Regions from separate parts of the Homo sapiens genome. Here regions 1, 2, 4 and 5 are each linked to region 3. Evidence: promoter capture Hi-C in 16 types of primary human blood cells and fetal thymus (Javierre and others, 2016). All regions are on one chromosome and are shown on one strand. Each heading gives the region's core, a stretch centred on a gene start or on the middle of the fragment in contact. The rest is flanking DNA. Distances are from core to core; before and after follow the strand shown.

Region 1 (2,700 bases), core at 97-2,596, 790 kb after region 3:
CTGCAGTATCACAGACAGAAACTAGGTGGAACTTCAGTACCGTGGCTTACTGCAGCACCAGCCAGACCGCAGCATCATAGGCAGACACTAGAGGGAGCGCTTCAATAGAAAGACCTCTTCCGTTACGTGATTACACACTAAGTCCCAAAAGGGTGCATTCCCAGAGAAGGGTTGACAGGTCTCCAGATTCTCTAGCCAGGCTGATTGGAGAAAGTCCTCCCTGTAGAAAACCAGACCACAAAGACTGCACGGGGTAGCTGAGTTTTCAAATGCCAAAGTACCAAGAGAAGATAAGAAGACATATAAAGGGACAGGAAAACATGGCCTATTCAAAGAAACACATTACATCTCTAGAAACTGACCCCAAAAAAATACACGAATTATCTGACCAAAAAAATGCAAAATAATAATCATAAGAATTTTCAATGAATTAAAAGAGAGTACAGACAGACAACTAAATGAAATCAGGAAAACAATGGATGAACAAAAAGAAAATATCAAAAAAGAGATAGAAGCTATGAAGAAGAACCACACAGAAATTCTGGAACTGCAGAATACAATAACTAAATTTAAAAATCCACTAGAGGGGCTTAGGAACAGATGTTACCAAGAGAAGAAAGAATCAGCAAATTCAAAGACAGGAGTTTTGAAATTACTGAAGCAAAGGAGAAAAAAAGAACTAAGAAAAGTAAAAGGAGCATAAGAAACTTATGGGACACTATGTGTAACATTATGGAACAACCTACACACTATGAGAATCTAAGACAGACAAGAAAAAGAGAAGGCACCACAGAGACTTTTAAAAAAAATGATGGCTGGAAATTTTTCTAATCTGAGGGAAAAAGTAGACATACAAATTCAAAAAGCTCAACAAGCTCCAACCAGGACGAATCTAACAGCATTTACACTAAGACACAATTAAACTGTCAAAAATAGAAAAGAGGCTGAAGTGGGAGGATCACTTGAGCCCAGGAATTTGTGGCTACAGCAAGATGTGATCACGCCACTGCACTCCAGCCTGGGTGACAGAGGGAAACTTTGTTTTAAAAAAAAAATGACAAAGAGTGAATCTTGAAAGCAGCAAGAGAAAAGCAACTTGTCACATACAAAGGAGCTCCTATTAAATCATCAGCTAAAGTCTCAACAGAACCCTTGTAGGCTAGAAGGAGTGGGATGTGATGAGAGAAAAAATAACTGCCAACAAAGAATACTATATAGTACTAAACTGCCTTCAAAATGAAGGGGAAATGAAGACTTTCCTGGATAAACAAAACTGAGGGAATTCATCACCATTAGACCTGCCCTGAAAGAAGTGCTGAAAGGAATCCTTCAAGTTGAAATGAAAAGATGATGAATGGCAACACAAAGCCATACAAAAGTATAAATCTACCAGGTAAACATAAACATAGAGACAAATATAAAATCTGGAAGTATTGTAACATAGCTGTATAAATCACTTTTGAATTTGGTATAGAATTTTAAAAGCGAAAGCATGGGAAGTAACTAAAAATCTATGTTGATGAATACACAATATAAAAAGAGGTAATTTGTTTTGTTACAGTAACATAAAGAGGGCAGAGAAGTAAAGAAGTAGAGTTTTTATATGCAATTTAAGTTAAGTTGTTATCGGTTTAAAATATCTTGCTATAACTTTAAGTCTCTTTGTGTAGTTGCAATGGTGATGACAAATAAAATATGAATAGAATACCAATGCTCTTCAACTTATGATGGGATAACATAAGAATAAACCCATCAGAAGTCAAAAATATTGTAAGTCAAAATTGCATTTGATGCTGGCAACACAGCATACTGTCCCTGACTTATGTTCAACTTACAAATTTTCAACTCTACAATTATGCAAAATAATACACATTTAGTAGAAACCATAACCCCATTGTAAATCATAGGAACTTTTTATCTTATGCTGGGCTTACATTCAGGTACTGTCTGTATACACAAACAGAATTGAAAAGAGAATCAAAATATGTCAGTACAAAACATACAAGAAGGCAGCAAAGGAGAAAAGGAGCAAAAACCACTGGACAAGACATATTAAAATATATTGAATGTATTATCCATATATATAGACAAGTAACAAAACGAAAATAGTAAGTCCTTCCATGTCAGTAATTACTTTAAAGGCAAATAAATACCTCAGTTAAAAGAGATAAATGAGAAAACATAAAAACAACAGAGCAAGATGATGGAATAGAAGCCTCCAGCAATCATCTCCCCCAGGAAGGACACTAATTTAACAACTGTGTACACACAAATAAAAGAGCCTTCATAAGAACTAAAAATCAAATGAGCAGTTACAATACCTGGTTTTACTTCATATCACTGAAAGAGGCACCGAAGAGGTAGAAAAAAAGTCTTGAATAGCCAACACCACCCCTCTCCTAACCCCTGGCAGTGGCAGCATGGTGTGGAGAGCATTTCTGTGCACTGGGGAAAGGGAGATCACAGCAGTTGTGAAGCATTGAACTCAGTGCTGCCCTATTATAAAAGAAAACAAAATGGGACCAAACTCAGCTGTTACCCACCCAAAGAGGGAGCATTTAAACAGCCTTAGCCAGAGGGGAATTGCTAATCCAATCTCAGTGGTCTGAACTTCAGTTCCTGCAAGCCTTACCACTGTGGGCTAAAGTACTCTGGGGCTCTAAATAAACTTGAAAGGCAGTCTAGGCTCCAAGAGCTACA
Region 2 (2,700 bases), core at 178-2,677, 760 kb after region 3:
TGTGTAGCACACAGAACCACCTATGTGAGCTCTGGTTGTTACAGCCTTTTAGGGCTTAATAAGTGCAAATATGAGCCCACGAAAATAGTCCTGCTGCATCCGGCCATTGCAACTCTCACTCTGTGTCTTTGGCAAGTCTATGTCTTCACTTAGAACTCACAGAAGTCATGGGAACTGAGAAAGGTCCATCAGGCTTGGTAGAAGAAGGAACTGAAAGCCAAGCAATGGTGTGCGCTTCCTAGAATCACCAGGTTGTCAGGGCTGGAGCCTGGCCTACTGGACTTGCAGTTAAGAATGGAAAGCCCATTTCACAGAAGTCCTTCTATGAGCACAGTCCTGAGTGTTTCTCAAAGATTTTCAGGTTTCAGTATCACAACAAAATTGCAAGAGGAAGTTTTACTTTCCACATTGTATACATTACATAGATAAGAAAACAGAGCCTCAGGGAGGTTATTTTCGCAAAGTAAAACACCAATGTCAGTCCTTTTTCTGTTGCTTAGAATAGAATACATGAAACTGGATTATTTATAAAGAAAAAGAACCTATTTCTTATAGTTGTAAAGGCTGAGATGTTCAAGGTCAAGGGGCCATATTTGGTGAGAGCTTTCTTGCTGGTGGGGACTCTCTAAAGAGTCCTGAGGCAGCACAGGGTATCACATGGTGAGGGGACTGAGCATGCTAGCATACTATACTTGGGTCTCTCTCTCTCTTCTTATAAAACCAACAGTTCCCCTCCCATGATAACCCATTAATCCACTAATTTGTGAAATAACGCAGAGTCCTTATGACCCAATCACCTCTTAAAGACCCTACCTCTCAATACTGCACATTGAGGATTGAATTTCAACATGAATTTTGGAGGGGACAAATATTTAAACTATAGCAATCAAGCAATAGAGGAGGCATTGAAACCTGGGTCAATGGGACTCCACTAGCTCTTACTTTGACCTCTTCACTGTGCTGCTTCTAGATACATCGAACTTTTAACAAAAATAAGATTACACAAAATATGGTGGTTTATTTGTTCTTTTACTCAATGATAAATTGGGGACCCTTTTCTATGTAAATATATATGTGTCTGCAACATCATCAATACATCCCCAATATATACATCAACACTATCATTTCAATCTCTACATAGTTTTCCATTTTGTGGTTGTACCATCATTTATCTAACTCACTCCTATTCTTGGACATGGGCCATGCATCAAACTTTTCTATATTGTAAATACTATGATTACCATTCCTTTACAAATCATATTCACCCTTGTCTGATTGTTTCTTTTGAATAAGGCCGTCAAAGAGGAATTACTAAATCAAAGGGTATGAGTTTTATTGGGAAATTGCATTTCAAAAGTGTTTTTTGGTTTCAAAAGCCATTTCCCAATGAAACGTGAGTGTCTCAATATCAGTAATATATTATCTCACCACACCCAGCACAGAAGCAGCAGCAATGGACAGGGGGTATTTTGAACATTTGGGACCAAAACAGATTTGGTTAAAGTATCTCCACTTTACTTGTTTAAATATGGGTTTGTCACGTGGACATAGATCATAAGATCATGACTGTGATGCTGTATTGCCATCTAGAGAGATCGTGTCCATTGTTATTCCCACCAGCAGTATGTGGGAGCGCCTGCCTCACCACAACCTTAGCAACACAGAAAATTGGCAATCTTTTTCATGTTTGCTAAGCTAATATTCTAAAAATTGTGTCTGCTCTTAGCTTGCAGGAGGGAGAAATGTTTTATTTTATTTTATTTTTATTGTATTTCAGGCTTGCTGTCAAAATAATCCAAACAGGGAAGGAACGTACAAGTAAATAACAAAAGCCCCCATACTCTTCTGACTCCCTGGAGACAGCTACTTTTTAGGAGTTTCATTTGCCTTCTTCAAGAGAGCTTTCTTCCACTGACATAAAATGCCAGCTTGATCGTACAATAAATCTGTCTATTTACCTGGGTCCAATTCCAGGTTCTCTCTTCTGTTTCATCGACCTCTCTGCTTGCCTTGGTACCAACCTGCCTCTACTATTTATTGCAGCCTGAAAATGTGCTCTAACTTTCATATGCTGAAACCTGCGTACATTTTTTTTAAAAACTTTTCCAGCTAGTCTGTCATGGACGTTAGCAATTTGTGTGTGGTTTAACTATGCACTTCACTGGATTACTGGTGTTGTTGAACATCTTTTCTAGAAGTATTTCTTCTCTTTTGACTTCCTGACTGTGTCCTTAGCAAGGGCTGTCTGTCTATCTTGTCTCTATGTCTCTCTTGATACCCAGTTAAGGAATGTGCCCATCCTAAAAGCTAATACATGATATGGAAAGAAAGAATGAATGGGGCTTCAAATGCAATCTGAACCCAGGCACCTGGACCGCAGCCTCATCCCCAGCTGGAGCTTGGAGCTGACGTGTGTTCTTCCAGGAGTGGCGGGTGAGGAGGAGCTGCGGGTAATTCAGCCTGAGAAGTCCGTGTCAGTCGCAGCTGGAGAAGCGGCCACTCTACACTGCACTGTGACCTCCCTGATCCCCGTAGGGCCCATCCAGTGGTTCAGAGGAGCTGGACCAGGCCGGGAATTAATCTACAGTCAAAAAGAAGGCAACTTCCCCTGGATAAGAACTGTTTCAGACATCACAAATAGAAAGAGCACAAACTATTCCATCTGTATCAGAAGCATCACACCAGCAGAGCCGGCACCTA
Region 3 (2,700 bases), core at 135-2,634:
AACTTGAGGCTCAGGGGTGGCAGAGAACACACAAGCAGTTGGTCACAAAGCTCAAATGAGAAGCCAGGTTCAGAATTGCTTTTTTATGTTCCAGATGTTATGTGCACTTATGTAGGAGCTCAGCTCTGGCAGCAGGACATGGTGGAAAGGGCACTGCTGAGACCTAGCTGGCTCTGCGATGGATTCACTGTGTGTAAGGTTCCACCCCTTCCTGGGCCTCAGCCACCTCCTGGAGGGAGGGAGATGGGCTAGATGACATCTGACCTCCCCTCTTGCTGCAGTGTGTAGGGTCCAGAGCTCCTCTTCTTAGCATCCCAGCCATGCTGTACATTACAGCAAGGAATGGGAGACAGGGGAGGGGGCCTAATGTGCAATCACCTGTCCCAGTTTTTGTGGCTTCTGAAGTAGCCAGCATTTGCCTGTTGCATTTGGCTCAGTGATGTCTTTGGCCAATCTTCCAGCAGCCCTAATCGCCATTCACAATATTTTACAAGTTTGACTCATATCTTGTTTGGATTTGGCGTCCCTGTCAACCTACTAGGCTGAGCACACAAGACAGATAATAATTAGCATGCTGCTTAGCAGGGGTGCTGATTAACAAAGGCCCATATCCTCGACAGTAAGCATAGAGTGGGGGAACCTGCACTTCCTGTTGTTCTTTGTAACCCCTGTTCCCTGGTGCTCTCCTGTGGACCAGGACATCTTGTGGCACACCTGCTCCTGCTACGGGGAGGCTTCAGCTCATCAAGTCACTTACACAGAGCCTGTCTGATGCTTCTGATGTGTAGCTTACTTAGGAGCATTCCTAATGCTCCTAAGTAAGTTGATTTGAAATAAACAATGGTTTCTTTCAAATCAACTTACATGTTACCACTCTCACTCCCTGGTAGTTCTGAGATGTGCTTCTTTGCTGACACTGCTGACAGCTGGATACAGCTACACTGAGAAACACGAGACCCGAGTCCTGTCTGCTTTGGCTTTACGGGTGGCGACGGATGTGTAAAAGAAACGCAAACACAAACAAGGCAAAGCTTGTCCTCTGCCTAAGGAGATGCGATGTCCAGCTGCACTGAACACCCTGCCCATTATTCAGAGCTACATTCCAATGATGTTCTACCCCAAGAATATGCTAGAGGGACCCAACCACCACTGAGAAAGAGCCGCCTCTGGCTAGCACCCTAAAATAGGAAGTCTGGCCTTCAGAGCCCCCAAGGCAGGCAGCTGTCCTGGCCGGACACTCTGGCTTGGCAGGCTGGCCCAGGGGAAGCACAGGCTTCTGGCAAGGACCTGATGGAGAAGATGCCATGCACTCACCAGCCATGTTTCGCCTTCCTCTGCCTCTTCTCAGGCTCCTCTGGGAATGGCACGGACAGTGCTGACAGACAGGCTGCCAAGGATTGCCTTACCATTTATAGAATCCTCTCCTACACACCCCAATTAGAATTCTAATGAAGTGGGCGAGGCACCAGGTCATTCCTGTAGTGCCTGTAAACGTTTCACTTACGACAGACTTGTCACCCAATGGACGTGCATCATGTTTGTACAAGACCAGCTTGGGGAGAAGGGGGCAGATAATAAAGAAACTCAAATAGTTCGCTTTTATAATTTTATAAAATGATGGACTATTTCCTGGATTGTAGGGTTTAGGAAATGATGACATGCTTTTCTTGCTGATCCTGGGAAGTTCTCTCTGAATCAAAGAAACGTCTCAGCAGAACCCAGAAGAAGAAAATTGTGAGGTCCTTTCTCATGATACACATGTATTAGCATCTTCCACTTGCACAGGGAAGTGAGACACATCACAGTTCATTTGTTTAGGGTTGTAGTGTGGCATAAACCATCATTTGATTTGGAATTAGAAGCCGTTGGTTCTGATGCTGGCCGAGCCCTGGGTGGTCTCCAACCCTTGAAGCCCGGAAGCCTTGCTTGTGGTTGGGGATAATCACTCCCACCCCTCTCAACTCACAAAGCTGTGGACACGATCACATGAGATGGTGCGCATGGGAAGTGTATGCATATCTACCAGGGCAGGTTAAACTGAGATCACACTTGGCGTTGAATGTCAGTTTCAGTCCAGATTTGGGGGAAAATTGTTGTTTTTAATGAGGCAGCAGGAACAGCCTCTAACCTTATGCTTCTGCCATGTCTTTCTCAGACTGCAGGTTCCGTCACTGACCCTCACTGGGCCCACCTTGACATCAGTTTAAAGAAAGGGTGTGGAGTGGGGAGAAGCTCTGACATTCTACGTGTTTTTGTTTGCTTGCTTGTTTCTAAGGGCGTATGTTTTTTCAAAGTTCCTATTATCGATATTTACAAATATCAAGGTTTACGATGGACAAAGGAGTGAGTATATATTTTTTAAAGTGAGGCTTCAAGGATTCACGAGAGAACAGAAATGCCCCAAGGCTTTCCCCAGCATCACAGTGTGGAAGGAAGATTGAGCACCATGATGACAAGGTTGGGTCTTTAGAGAGAAGTGAGAATGTTTGATCTCGAGAAAGAGAAGACGGAATAGGCAGGTGGCTTGGAAAATTGAAAAAGAGAAATCAGTGTCCTTTCTCCGTCCTTTAGGCCCCTACAGCCTTTTGTACATCTTAGAACCTCTATTACCGTATGTATCCACTGCACTGGAACTATCTGTTTATATATGTCCCCATCTCCAGACTGAGCTCCTTGAAGGTACAGGTTGCATATCATTCA
Region 4 (2,700 bases), core at 158-2,657, 520 kb after region 3:
TGTTGATCCAGAATTCATTCTGTCCCTCACCCCCCATCCCGCCCATCACTGAGTCCTGTGGGCTGTATCTTCCAAATGTGTCTCGAGCCTCCTTTTCTCACCACCCTAGTCCAGGCTACCATCACCTTGGCCTGGAGGTCTGTACCAGCTTCCCCACTGGTCTCCCTGCTTCCATTCCTGCCACGCTCCTTCCCATTCTCCACACAACAACCCCAGTTATCCTCTAAAAAATGTACATCAGACCACTTTGCCCCTCTGTTAAAGTCTCTGCTGGTTTCCCATCACTCTCAGAATAGAATCAAGATCATCACCATGGTCCCCAGGCTCTTCTCACTCTGGACCTCTTTGCCATGACACTAGGGTCCCCTACAGACTTCTCAGTTTCTCAAGCCCACCAAGCCCTTCCTGCCTGAGGTCCTTCTCTCCTGCTGTCCCCGCTGTCTGGAATGTCCTTCCTCTGTCCCTTCCCATTGCTGGCTCCTATTCATTCCTGAGTTTCAGCTCAATGATGTCACCTCCTCAAGTAATTCTTCCCCAGCTGCCCTTCTAGAATAAGTCCTCCCTGTATTCTCCATCTATGCAGTCTTTGGGTTTCCTTGATGGCACTGGGATCAGTCATAATCACATTTGCATTTGCTTGTTTTCTTATGATCAAATGCCGATATGCTGCCTGAAGACAGAATCAGACACAGCATATAGTAGGCCCCCAGGGCCTGACACAGCTCTGGTGCCACTGGTGCCTGTGGGGTGTGTCCCACTCTCAGTGTACAATCACAATTGCTCTTTCCTTAGCTGGACAGCCCTTCATCTCTCTGACTGGTCCATCTCACAGGACAAGCCCTGGAGACTCAGTGCCTTTCAACTGTACTGCTGTCCCCTTCAACTCCCAGGACTTCTCCCGGGACTTCAATGTTACGTGGTTGAAGGACAGTGATGAACATCCAGCCTCAGCTCAGCGCCTGGTGCCTGACAATGGAGGCAATGACTTCATCACCAGCAAGGCATGGGTGACACTGACCCGACAGGATGTCTCATCTGAGATCACCTGCGAAGTCACCCACAGGGCCCTGGCAGAGCCCCTGAAAACAACCATGAATCTCTCCCAAGTGCTCTGAGGTGAATGGGCAGTCAGGTGGGGTGGACATTAACCCTGGAAGCATCCAGCTTTCAGGGTTTTTGCCCAAAGCCTCATTTCATAAATGGGGAAATGAAATTCCTCATGGATTTCTGATCATGTGTATTGTGGTTATAAGCGCAGGTTCCAGGGGCTCGCTGTCTGGGTTTTAATCCTAGCTGTGCCACTTTACAACTTGTGGGATCTTGTGAGTTACTTGACTATTTAATACCAGTTTCTTTATATAACAGGAAAAAAATGAGGACCTACTTCATAGCTGTCCTGTGAAGATTAAATGAATTATTCCTTATAAAACACACATAACAGTGCCTGGCATGCAGTGACTTACTTACGAATGTTTGATCTTGTTATTATCTGGTCCCAGACTCCCTTTCTAAACATCTTTGTTCTATTAATGTCATTGTTACAGTTTTTTTTTTAAATGTTTATTATTCATTTAATAATAATGAATATCCACTGTATGCCAGACCCTGTGCTCAGTGCTGGGGATGCAGCAACGAGCAAAATAAAGTCCCTGTCGTCATGGGCATCACCTTTTACTAATTCTTAAAATTATATTTTCTGATATGAAATATTTCAAAAATACAGAATATAGCAGACACCCAGGTACCCTTACCCATATTTAATGAATATTAACATTTAGCCCTATTTGCTTTACATTACGCATACAAGAAAAAAATATTTCTTTAAAAAAAGGCGAGAGACCTTGAGGCTGTTCCCTGGGAGAGGGAAGCATGGGTGGCCACAGGCAGGGGCTGATTTCACCAGGTCTTACTTCCTATTCCTCTGTCTAGTTGTCCCCACCCTGAAGATCACCACTGAAACCTCTGGGACCCATGTACATGTGCAAGACAGAGTGAATCTCACCTGCCACGTCCTCCACTTCTATCCCGCCCACCTGCGACTCACCTGGATGGAGAACAGGAGCATGATCCAGACCCTGGTGTCCCCTCGTCCCCTCAGGCCACCAGAAATCCAGATGGGACATACTCTCTGGAGCACACGTGGCAGGCAGAGGCCACGCTGGAGGAGCGTGAGTTTGCTTGCTGGGTGGTCCACGATGAGCAGCCCCCACTCAAGGCCAACGTCACCCTGCAAGCCCAGGTGCGCAGGCAGGGGAAAGGTGGGTACAGCCTCTGGCCCAGCCCCTCTGGACATCCCCTGTGGGCAGCACGGCTGGGGAGGGTCAGAGACTCAGGGCGGCATTGGATGATGGTGAAGGAAGGAAGGATACCCGCAGCTGGTGATACAACTCTCACACATTCGCCCCCAGACTCCACTTCTCACGCCTTCCTCCACACCCTCCCCAAGAAGAAAGGGTGGGACTCCCCTTCCCTAATTCCATGCATTCTTGATGTTGAAAGTTCTCCACCTTAACACTTGACTGCAAGAAATGGCAGAGGTTAAGGACTGCTGAGCACCAAAGTGCCTTCTAGAAAGGCTATTAATCAAGACTGGCACAGTTGAAAGTTTCTGGATGGCAACTTTAAACAGAGGCCAGAATTCTGAATTCAGCTGGAAAAGAGGGTCCATGCACGGCCTTACGTAGGGTCAGGGCAGGCCCT
Region 5 (2,700 bases), core at 18-2,517, 680 kb after region 3:
TACAAGGTGCATGTTATAACTTCCATTTACATGTAATTAAGTTAAGGCTTAGAGAAGTCAAGTGTCTTGTTGAAAGTCACACAGCTGGAGATTGTAAGAAAAGGAATTCATCTACAGATTGACAAAAAGCAGGGTGAAGAGGATCCAGAGGGAGAAATTGATCTCAGAGTGTCAGAGGTAGACCAAGTACACCATAAAAGCTGGGTTCCAGAAGTCCGGGGAACATGGGAGAAGGCCACTGGTGGGAAACTCAGCATGCAGTAGAAATCCATTTAAAAGCAATATTTGAGTTCCCTCTCTTCACCTGGCACCATGAGTATCAATAATAACCTACTGAATCTCAGGGATGTATAGTCATTATCTCTTTTGATGTTCACTAAAACATGGCAGTGAGACTTATTATCCCAAGGTTAGAAGGCAAAACTGAACCTAGGCAGGCCCAGTAACTTCCCCAACTCCTTAGCACATCTTCTTAGGGTATTTATTCTCCCTCCCTCCTCAGTTCCCATCTGAAGACAGTGATGAATGGAATAGGTGTTCTATGTGCAGAGCAAAGAGTATTGAAATCGATGTGACTGCTCCAGGAATCTGCCCTCCATATTCTCCCCCATAATAAACATATCCCCTTTCCATAACCCATAATCCCCACCTCACCTCACAAAGCAGATCCTTATTACCCTAAGCCCACTTCCTCTCCTGGAAGAAGTCAGGAAATAATTCCTTCTGCTGGGTGCAGGCATATGAAAGTGCTAACGGCCACATGAGACTGAATTTGGGCTAAGTTTTGCCATTTATATTTATAAAAGTTCGGAATAGGGAACCATTTCAAGAGCAGACCTGTTCCTCTCCAACACTGAGCAGGTCCAGTGATCCCTCATCCTGCCCCAACTGAGTAGCACTTGGTTGAGGCTGTTGTAGAATGAGACCACAAGCCAACCACATCCTGAGGTCTTGAGATGGAAAGTTTAGGAAACATTTCATAACCACAGGTCCTTCCTGGCTTAAGAGCACCAAATGGCAAATCACCAAGAAGACATAAAGATGGGGTTAGGAGTCATGGAAGGAGTTAAGACCTCAGGTGGGAAGGAAGCATTATTTCTGCTAAGCCTGTCTGATTCTCCTGAAATGGGGCATGCATAACTGCTTGCATTGTAGCTGCTTGCTGTTCCTGATTTCTGTTTCACAATCCAGAAGCAGGTTACTGCTTCACTCCATCGCAGCCACTTCCTCTTGAACTAAGGGAGGCAGGGCTTGTCTTCTCTCCTCAGAGCAGAGTCTGCGATCTTCCCAGCACAGACGTTTGGACAGAGCAGGCTCCTAAGGTCTCCAGAATGCCCGTGCCAGCCTCCTGGCCCCACCTTCCTAGTCCTTTCCTGCTGATGACGCTACTGCTGGGGAGACTCACAGGTGAGCACTGCCTTCGGTTAAAATCTTTTTTCCTGCCCACTGAGCCATGGCCTGTCCCTGGACTTTCAGGGATTCCGGACAATGACAAGTGCTGCCAAGAAAGGCCAAGGATTAGGCTTTGACTGAGAGCAGAAAATCAGGGAGCTGAGCACTTTCTCTGTGGATCTGCAGCTGGCTACCAGAGGCATTGAACCACAGGACGATTCAACCACCACAACAACAATTACTTACATTTTGATAATATTTCAATTGAAAAAGCAGAGAAGAATCATTATCTAAATCCTCACCAGTCCTGAGGCCCTAGGGCCAAGTGACATGCCCAAGTCCACAGAGTAAGCTCAGAGACACCCTAACAGGGTTATGTGGCTCTAGGCCCAGCCCTCTCTCTTCACCAAACTGAGGATGTGAAGTCTGTAATAGTGCTCACTTGAGTAGGGCAGTGGTGTGGTGTATCCTGGGAGTGTTCAGCCACCATCCTCCCTAAGGGTGCTCCTCACTTTGTCCTCTGTTCCCCCATGCTCCTCCCTCCCCTGTGACCTGATTCTTACCACCCATTTCTCTGTGGCCTCTTCCTCTTTAAGAAGTTCCACATTTGCTGCTTACTGGGTCCTATATTCCTTTCCTAGGGCTTCCATAACAAAGAACTGCAGGCTGGGTGGCTGAAACTACAGATATTTACTTCCTTGCAGTTAAGGAGGCTGAAGTCCAAGATCAAGGTGTCAGCAGGGTTAGTTTCTACTGAAGTCTCTCTCCTTGGCTTATACAGGGCCATTTTCTCTCTGTGTCTTAAACACATGATCTTCCTCTGTGTGTGTCTGTGTCCTCATCTCCTCTTCTTATGAGAATATCAGTCTTGTTGTATTAAGGCCCACCCCAATGACCTCATTTAACTAAATTACTTCTTAAAGACCCTGTCTCCCAAACTGTAACGTTCAGAGGTGCTGGGGATTAGAGCTTCAACACATGCATTTTGTGGGACACATTCAGCCCATAACAGGTACTACAACCTCCTTTGGTTCTCTTAAATTTCCCATGGATAATTTCTTTCCCCTTCCCAAGACAGGCAGGATTGGAGGGCCTTTCCTGGTGCAGCCTGGGAGAACCCTGCTCACAGCTCCCAGACAAGTTACCTGTCCTGATCCCTTCTCAGGCCATGGAGCTGACCCCAGAACCACAGGGCTGGGCACAGCAGCCTCTCAATTCCCCACTGGGCCCTGCTGTGATGTCACCTCACAGGCCCTAGAGGGCAGGGGTCTCACTTTTCAAATTATTTTTCTCACACATACACTGTAC

The links. Contacts are between HindIII fragments. The CHiCAGO score rates a contact against its expected background, and 5 or more counts as called.
Region 1: a fragment that was not itself captured here is called in contact with the fragment with the promoter of TGM3 in region 3 in 1 of 17 cell types (neutrophils); the score reaches 5.5 in neutrophils.
Region 2: a fragment that was not itself captured here is called in contact with the fragment with the promoter of TGM3 in region 3 in 1 of 17 cell types (neutrophils); the score reaches 7.1 in neutrophils.
Region 4: a fragment that was not itself captured here is called in contact with the fragment with the promoter of TGM3 in region 3 in 1 of 17 cell types (neutrophils); the score reaches 5.7 in neutrophils.
Region 5: the fragment with the promoter of SIRPB1 here is called in contact with the fragment with the promoter of TGM3 in region 3 in 8 of 17 cell types (monocytes, total B cells, M0 macrophages and 5 more); the score reaches 13.5 in monocytes.

The regions. Positions count from the first base shown.
Region 1 is chr20:1,501,177-1,503,876 of GRCh38, reverse strand. No RefSeq gene overlaps it. Among named protein-coding and RNA genes, the nearest start is that of SIRPB2, 11 kb to the right of the region's middle. The HindIII fragment of the contact is 8,359 bases long and covers 1-2,700 here.
Region 2 is chr20:1,533,519-1,536,218 of GRCh38, reverse strand. SIRPD (signal regulatory protein delta) reads left to right here. Exons shown (of 4, transcript NM_178460.3): 4 at 1,778-1,968. The coding sequence ends at 1,794. The region is part of intron 2 of LOC105372499 (a long non-coding RNA gene); the gene reads right to left. Among named protein-coding and RNA genes, the nearest start is that of SIRPD, 23 kb to the left of the region's middle. The HindIII fragment of the contact is 7,989 bases long and covers 1-2,700 here.
Region 3 is chr20:2,294,685-2,297,384 of GRCh38, reverse strand. TGM3 (transglutaminase 3) reads right to left here and starts at 1,384. Exons shown (of 13, transcript NM_003245.4): 1 at 1,315-1,384. The coding sequence starts at 1,321. It overlaps LOC105372503 (a long non-coding RNA gene), which reads left to right. Exons shown (of 3, transcript XR_937203.3): 2 at 95-193; 3 at 891-1,564. RefSeq lists enhancers at 1-146, 147-680. The HindIII fragment of the contact is 7,559 bases long and covers 1,034-2,700 here.
Region 4 is chr20:1,778,078-1,780,777 of GRCh38, reverse strand. It overlaps the pseudogene LOC100289473. Among named protein-coding and RNA genes, the nearest start is that of SIRPA, 120 kb to the left of the region's middle. The HindIII fragment of the contact is 6,303 bases long and covers 1-2,700 here.
Region 5 is chr20:1,618,576-1,621,275 of GRCh38, reverse strand. SIRPB1 (signal regulatory protein beta 1) reads left to right here and starts at 1,267. Exons shown (of 6, transcript NM_006065.5): 1 at 1,267-1,407. The coding sequence starts at 1,332. The HindIII fragment of the contact is 7,240 bases long and covers 1-2,700 here.